Regions from separate parts of the Homo sapiens genome. Here region 1 is linked to region 2. Evidence: promoter capture Hi-C in 16 types of primary human blood cells and fetal thymus (Javierre and others, 2016). All regions are on one chromosome and are shown on one strand. Each heading gives the region's core, a stretch centred on a gene start or on the middle of the fragment in contact. The rest is flanking DNA. Distances are from core to core; before and after follow the strand shown. Region 1 overlaps SMURF1 (SMAD specific E3 ubiquitin protein ligase 1). Region 2 holds the start of ARPC1A (actin related protein 2/3 complex subunit 1A).

Region 1 (3,047 bases), core at 97-2,596, 270 kb after region 2:
TGGAGGCATACTAGGCTCTCTTAGAAAGCTCAATAGACATAACTTATTTTGCTGATTGAAATTATCCTGAAATTAGAGAACACGAATTGTGTGTTCTGTGTCACATGGATGGATGTGAGGTCTCATCTAGGTGTGGGTCTCCTCTCTCCTCTAGGGCTCCCTGACCCTTTTGCAAAGATTGTCGTGGATGGGTCTGGGCAGTGCCACTCAACCGACACTGTGAAAAACACATTGGACCCAAAGTGGAACCAGCACTATGATCTGTGAGTTGAATGTTCTGTAAGCCCCATGCGGAGCGGCAGGAAAGCAGGTGTCTACCTTTTACGAGAAACATCCAAGAGAAAAAAAAAAAAAGGATGACTTTTTATTGATAACAAAAGCGGATGGCCAAATGAATGTCTACATTGCCTAATTTTAGAATTCATGTACTTGGAAGTTCTTGCATTTTGTTACTTTCTTTTTTCTTTTTTTTTTTTTTTTTTTGAGACGGAGTCTCACTCTGTCACCCAGGCTGGAGTGCGGTGGCGTGATCTCAGCTCACTGCAACCTCCGCCTCCCGGGTACAAGTGATTCTCCTACCTCAGCCTCCCAAGTAGCTGGGATTATGGACATATGCCACCATGCCCAGCTAATTTTTGTATTTTTTAGTAGAGATGGGGTTTCACCATGTTGGCCAGGCTGGTCTTGAACTCCTGACCTCAAGTGATCTGCCCACCTTAGCCTCCCAAAGTGTTGGGATTACAGGCGTGAGCCACTGCGCCCGACTGCATTTGGCATGTTCATAGATTTTTATGGTTTGGTTTTGTACATGTGATCCTCAAACTTTTCAATCTCCTGGCCATTTTAGCAGAAAAAAAGGCCATAGTTTGTGAACTCCACATGCTACTGTTTTTCAGCAAAACCCTAAACCTAGTTGTAGTTTCTACCTAAAAAATGCATTTTTTTTTTTTTTGAGATGGAGTCTTGCTTTGTCGCCCAGGCTAGAGTGTGCAGTGGCGCGATCTCGGCTCACTGTGACCTCCACCTCCTGGATTCAAGTGATTCTCCTGCCTCAGCCTCCCAAGTAGCTGGAATTACAGGCATCCGCCAGCATGCCCAACTAATTTTTGTATTTTTAGTTGAGACGGGGTTTCACCATCTTGGCCAGGCTGGTCTCGAACTCCTGACCTCATGATCCACCCGCCTCAGCCTCCCAAAGTTCTGGGATTACAGGCGTGAGCCACTGTACCAGGCCTAAAAAATTCATTATTATGACTGTATGTTTCTGTTGACTTTGAAAATTTTTGCTTTTTAGTACATATATATTTTCTGCAAGAGAAAATATAGTTTTATATGATCAAAGCCATCAATTTCTTATAGTCATTCAAAAACTGGATTGTACTTTGAAGACCACTATTTTATTTTATTTTATTTTATTTTATTTTATTTTATTTTATTTTATTTTATTTTATTTTATTTTTTTTTGAGATGGAGTCTTGCTCTGTCGCCCAGGCTGGAGTGCAGTGGCGGGATCTCGGCTCACTGCAAGCTCCGCCTCCCGGGTTCACGCCATTCTCCTGCCTCAGCCTCCCAAGTAGCTAGGACTACAGGCGCCCGCCACTACGCCCGGCTATTTTTTGTAGTTTTAGTAGAGACGGGGTTTCACCGTTTTAGCCGGGATGGTCTCGATCTCCTGACCTCGTGATCCGCCCGCCTCGGCCTCCCAAAGTGCTGGGATTACAGGCGTGAGCCACCGCGCCCGGCCTATTTTATTTTTAAATTAAATTAAATTTTTTTTTCAAACAGAGTCTCGCTCTGTTGCCCAGGCTGGAGCGCAGTGGCGCAATCTTGGCTCACCGCAACCTCCTCCTGCTGGGTTCAAGCGATTCTCGATCTTCAGCCTCCCGAGTAGCTGGGATTACAGGTACCCGCCACCATGCCTGGCTAATTTTTATATTTTTAGTAGAGATGGGTTTCACCATGTTGGCCAGGCTGGTCTTGACCTTCTGACCTCAGGTGATCCACCTTGGCCTCCTGAAGTGCTGGGATTATAGGCGTGAGCCACTGCACCTGGCTGTGAAGACCACTATTTTATATGCACCCATGTTTTCATGTTCCTACTAAGATATTTTCATCAAAGTAATCCTGAAAGATTATTGTCTTTTAGTTAATACAAATTATACTGTATTTGGGTGGGATTTTTAAGAATTATATTCTAAGATTCAGTTTCAGTGACACTGAGGCTGTGTAAGTGGGTTGAGTTCCTCTCTCCGTTGACTTGCAGTGACAGTAAATGGAGGTTTAATGTCTTAGTGTCCTCTTGTGTACTTTGAATAGATCCGTAGGTTTGTAAGTAGTCCCTTGTCGCAAACCAGTATTCTGTATCAAACCTAATTGGTGAGAATTTATGAATCATGTTACTGTCCTATGCGACTATTAAAATATAGTAAATTTGCTGGGTGCAGTGGCTCACACCTGTAATCTAAGCACTTTGGGAGGCCGAGGCAGGAAGATCACCTGAGGTCAGGAGGTTGAGACCAGCCTGGCCAACATGGTGAAACCCCGTCTCTACTAAAAATACAAAAATTAGCCAGGTGTGGTGGCAGGTGCCTGTAATCTCAGCTGCTGGGGAGGCTGAGGCAGGAGAATTCCTTGAACCCAGGAGACAGGTTGCAGTGAGCTAACACTGCGCCATTGCACTCCGGCCTGGGCGACAAGAGCAAAATTCCGTCTCAAAAAAATAAAAAAATAAATAAAAATAAATAAAATATAGTAAGTCTGTTATAAGATTATTATCATCGTGTGGTTATCTACATTTGCCCCTTCCATAAGGAGCAAGGTAGTTCTTCTTCCCAGCTTGTTGAAATTAATGGATACGTATTTATTAAATGCCTGTTACATGTGTAATACAGAGGCAACATTATTTTATAAGGTTTCTTAAAGAGAAAATCTCAATGAGATATCATAATTCAGAAATACAATTAAAAGCTGGGCATAGTAGCTCATGCCTGTAATCCCAGCACTTTGGGAGGCCAAGGCAGGTGGATCACCTGAGGTTAGGAGTTCAA
Region 2 (2,782 bases), core at 236-2,735:
GCCAAGATCACACCACTGCACTCCAGTCTGGGTGACAGAGTGAGACTCTATCTCCAAAAATAAGTAAATAAAAATAAATGAAAATTAGCCCAGTGTGGTGGCACACGCCTGTAGTCCCAGCTACTCAGGAGGCTGAGGTGGGAGGATCTGTTAAGCCCAGGAGGTCGAGGCTGCAGGAAAAAAAAAAAAAAGGAAGACAACAACCACAGTTACCCACTCCCTAACAGGACAAAAACACCTTCCTGACTGATGCCCCTCCTCTGTTTTTAGATACCTGAAAACCCAGGCCCTATGTGAAACCACAAGACTAGATAAAATTGAGGAGAGAGGGCAGAACTAAGATAATCTCGGCAATTTAAGCTACGAGTTGACATAGACAGAAGGTTCCAAAGCTGCAGGAGAACAGATGGCTTTATAATCAAAGATTCTAAGCTATAACTGATTAAGTGCCTATCATGTTCCCAGCAGTGTTGTAAATACCGGGATGGGGCTAGAAACATAAATAAGGCTGACACCATTCTGGTCTTCAAGTCTGGAGGGTTGGTGTTTGGGGAGAGTGGAGGAGATAGAAAAGGAAAGGAAGACGGATATGCATAGAATGCCCAGAAGCAGTAATAATAGCTAATATTTATTGATCACCTACTCTCGGCCAGGAACTATTCTAAGCAATTTATGCAAATAAGCTCACTTGATTCTTAGCAAAACGGTAAGAATCTTTTTATTGCAGATGAGGAAACAGGCGCAGAGAAGCATCTTCCCAGGATCACTCAACAAAGTGGTGGTGCCAGGACTGGCATAAAAGATTCCACTAAATGAATAAGAGCGCCGAGAAGGGTGCAATTTTGACTTGGGGGAAGGCGGTACTCATGCAGGGAAATCTTAAAAGAACTCGGGAGAAGGTTTTTCTCGAGATCGAGAAGGTTCCCCATTAACCGAAGGATTGAGGGCTGCCCTAGAGAGCAGGCAAACATCCTATGGGCGCCTACTGTATGCAGGGATCGACTCTAGACACTAAAGAGATGAATAGTCCCGCGGGTCGCTCGATTACGGGAGATCCTCCTACTTGACACAATTTTAGAGACGGTGACAAATGCCCCCAGCAGAGGTGCAAGTAGGACCCTGGGGGCGCAGAAGGGGCCGTTAATTCGGGCATCGGAGGCGGCTAGGAGCTCGAACATCCTGAGAAAAGCTGCAGGGGATCCACGGAGAAAGGGGATCCCCGCCCCCTCAGGAGGCCCCGGCAGGGAGACCCGGCCGCGCCTCAGCCTCGGGGCCCCGCGGCCTGAGCCCCCGTCTCACTGCCCCCGCGGCAAGTCCGGCGCCAGGCCTGGACAAGAGAGGCCGACAGGGTGAGACGCTCGCCCCTGCTGGCCGTTACCTGGGATCGGGGGAGTCCGGACGGGCTCGGAGCGGAGGATTCGCGGACTCTGGGCAGTCGACGCGAACAGGCTCCGTCGGGCGCGGGCGGAGGACGGAAGCCCAGAGGGAGCGGCTGACAGATCCCGGAAGTGGACACGGCGCCTGCGCGTTGCGACCGCGCGGACGGTCCGCGCATGCGCACAGCTCGGGCGCGCAGTCCGGGGTTAGGCAGGCTGCAGTGGAGGAGGGTACGCCGTTCCATTGGCGTGGTACTGTCGGCGGCCCTTCAGAGGAGATGCTGCCCCACGGAACGCCTGGCAAGTGCTGGCGAAGCGGCATGGGCGTCCCACTCCGTTCCTCAACCAATTTCCTCACAATCGCGAGCCGAAGTGTGGCGCTTTGGCAGTTTCGCAAGGTCTTTTGTCAGGAGATGAGTTACTGAGGATTGGGGGTCTTTGGAGCTCTTGGACCTGAAGAACGATTAAGTTTTTCTCCCTTCAGAGAGCCAAGGTCAGAGCCAGTCTACCTCAGCGCTGCTCCCTGCAGGGAGCCTCCGCCCCCGCCGTGCTCCCTCTGTGGAAAGCCCCTGAAGCCCCCCAGGAACTTTCTCGACCCTTCCTGGGACAGAATCCCCTGCTCCCAAGCAGTTCCCTGCTCCCAAGATGGCGCAGCAGGGATAAAAGGGTTGGGGGAACTTGGCAAGGCCCCCAATTCACAGAGGACAGAGCCTGCCCCGCAGATGCAGCCTCCAAGAAATGCCCTGATCCCCACCTGCAATCAGGCTGCTGCCCTTGAACCCTAGAAATTCTGGAGCATCCCCAGCCCCCACAGATGGGGCTAATCGAGAGCTTTTCTTTTTTCTTTTTTTTTAGACAGGTTCTCAACCTGTAGCCCAGGCTGGAGTGCAGTGGCGCGATCATAGCTAACTGCAGCCTGGAACCCCTGGGCTCAAGCGATCCTCCCGCCTCAGCCCCCCGTGGAGCTGGGACTACAAGTGCACACCACCACGCCTGGCTAATTTTTATTTTTTGGTAGAGACAGGGTCTTGCTGTGTTGCTTAGGCTGGTCTTGAACTCCTGGGCTCAAGCGATCGTCCCTCTTTGGCCTCTCAAAGCCCTCAGATTACAGGTGTGAGCCACTGTGCCTGGCTAATTTTTATATTTTTTGTAAAGATGAGGTTTTCCTATGTTGTCCAGGCTGGTCTTGAACCCCTGGGCTCAAGCAATCCTCTAGCCTCTGCTTCCCAAAGCGATGTGAGCTCCCCCCCGCCGCCGCCCAGCGCCATGCCAGGCCAACCAAGGGCTTGTCTCCTTCCCTTTGGTATTGTAAGGTGAGGTTTATGTAGGTATACTTGTCAAACTCTCAATTTCAGACCCGCTGTGATCTTTTTGAGACGGAGCCTTTCTCTGTCGCCCAAGCTGGA

What was found. Contacts are between HindIII fragments. The CHiCAGO score rates a contact against its expected background, and 5 or more counts as called.
Region 1: a contact is called between a fragment that was not itself captured here and the fragment with the promoter of ARPC1A in region 2, in 14 of 17 cell types (M2 macrophages, megakaryocytes, endothelial precursors and 11 more). The highest score is 14.7, in M2 macrophages.

The regions. Positions count from the first base shown.
Region 1 is chr7:99,057,815-99,060,861 of GRCh38, reverse strand. It overlaps SMURF1 (SMAD specific E3 ubiquitin protein ligase 1), which reads left to right. Exons shown (of 18, transcript NM_181349.3): 3 at 155-263. Among named protein-coding and RNA genes, the nearest start is that of SMURF1, 85 kb to the left of the region's middle. The HindIII fragment of the contact is 4,291 bases long and covers 1-3,047 here.
Region 2 is chr7:99,324,601-99,327,382 of GRCh38, reverse strand. It overlaps ARPC1A (actin related protein 2/3 complex subunit 1A), which reads right to left and starts at 1,485. Exons shown (of 10, transcript NM_006409.4): 1 at 1,379-1,485. It overlaps LOC105375421 (a long non-coding RNA gene), which reads left to right and starts at 1,575. Exons shown (of 4, transcript XR_927798.3): 1 at 1,575-1,869. RefSeq lists a silencer at 1,205-1,384 and an enhancer at 1,360-1,919. The HindIII fragment of the contact is 5,893 bases long and covers 1-2,782 here.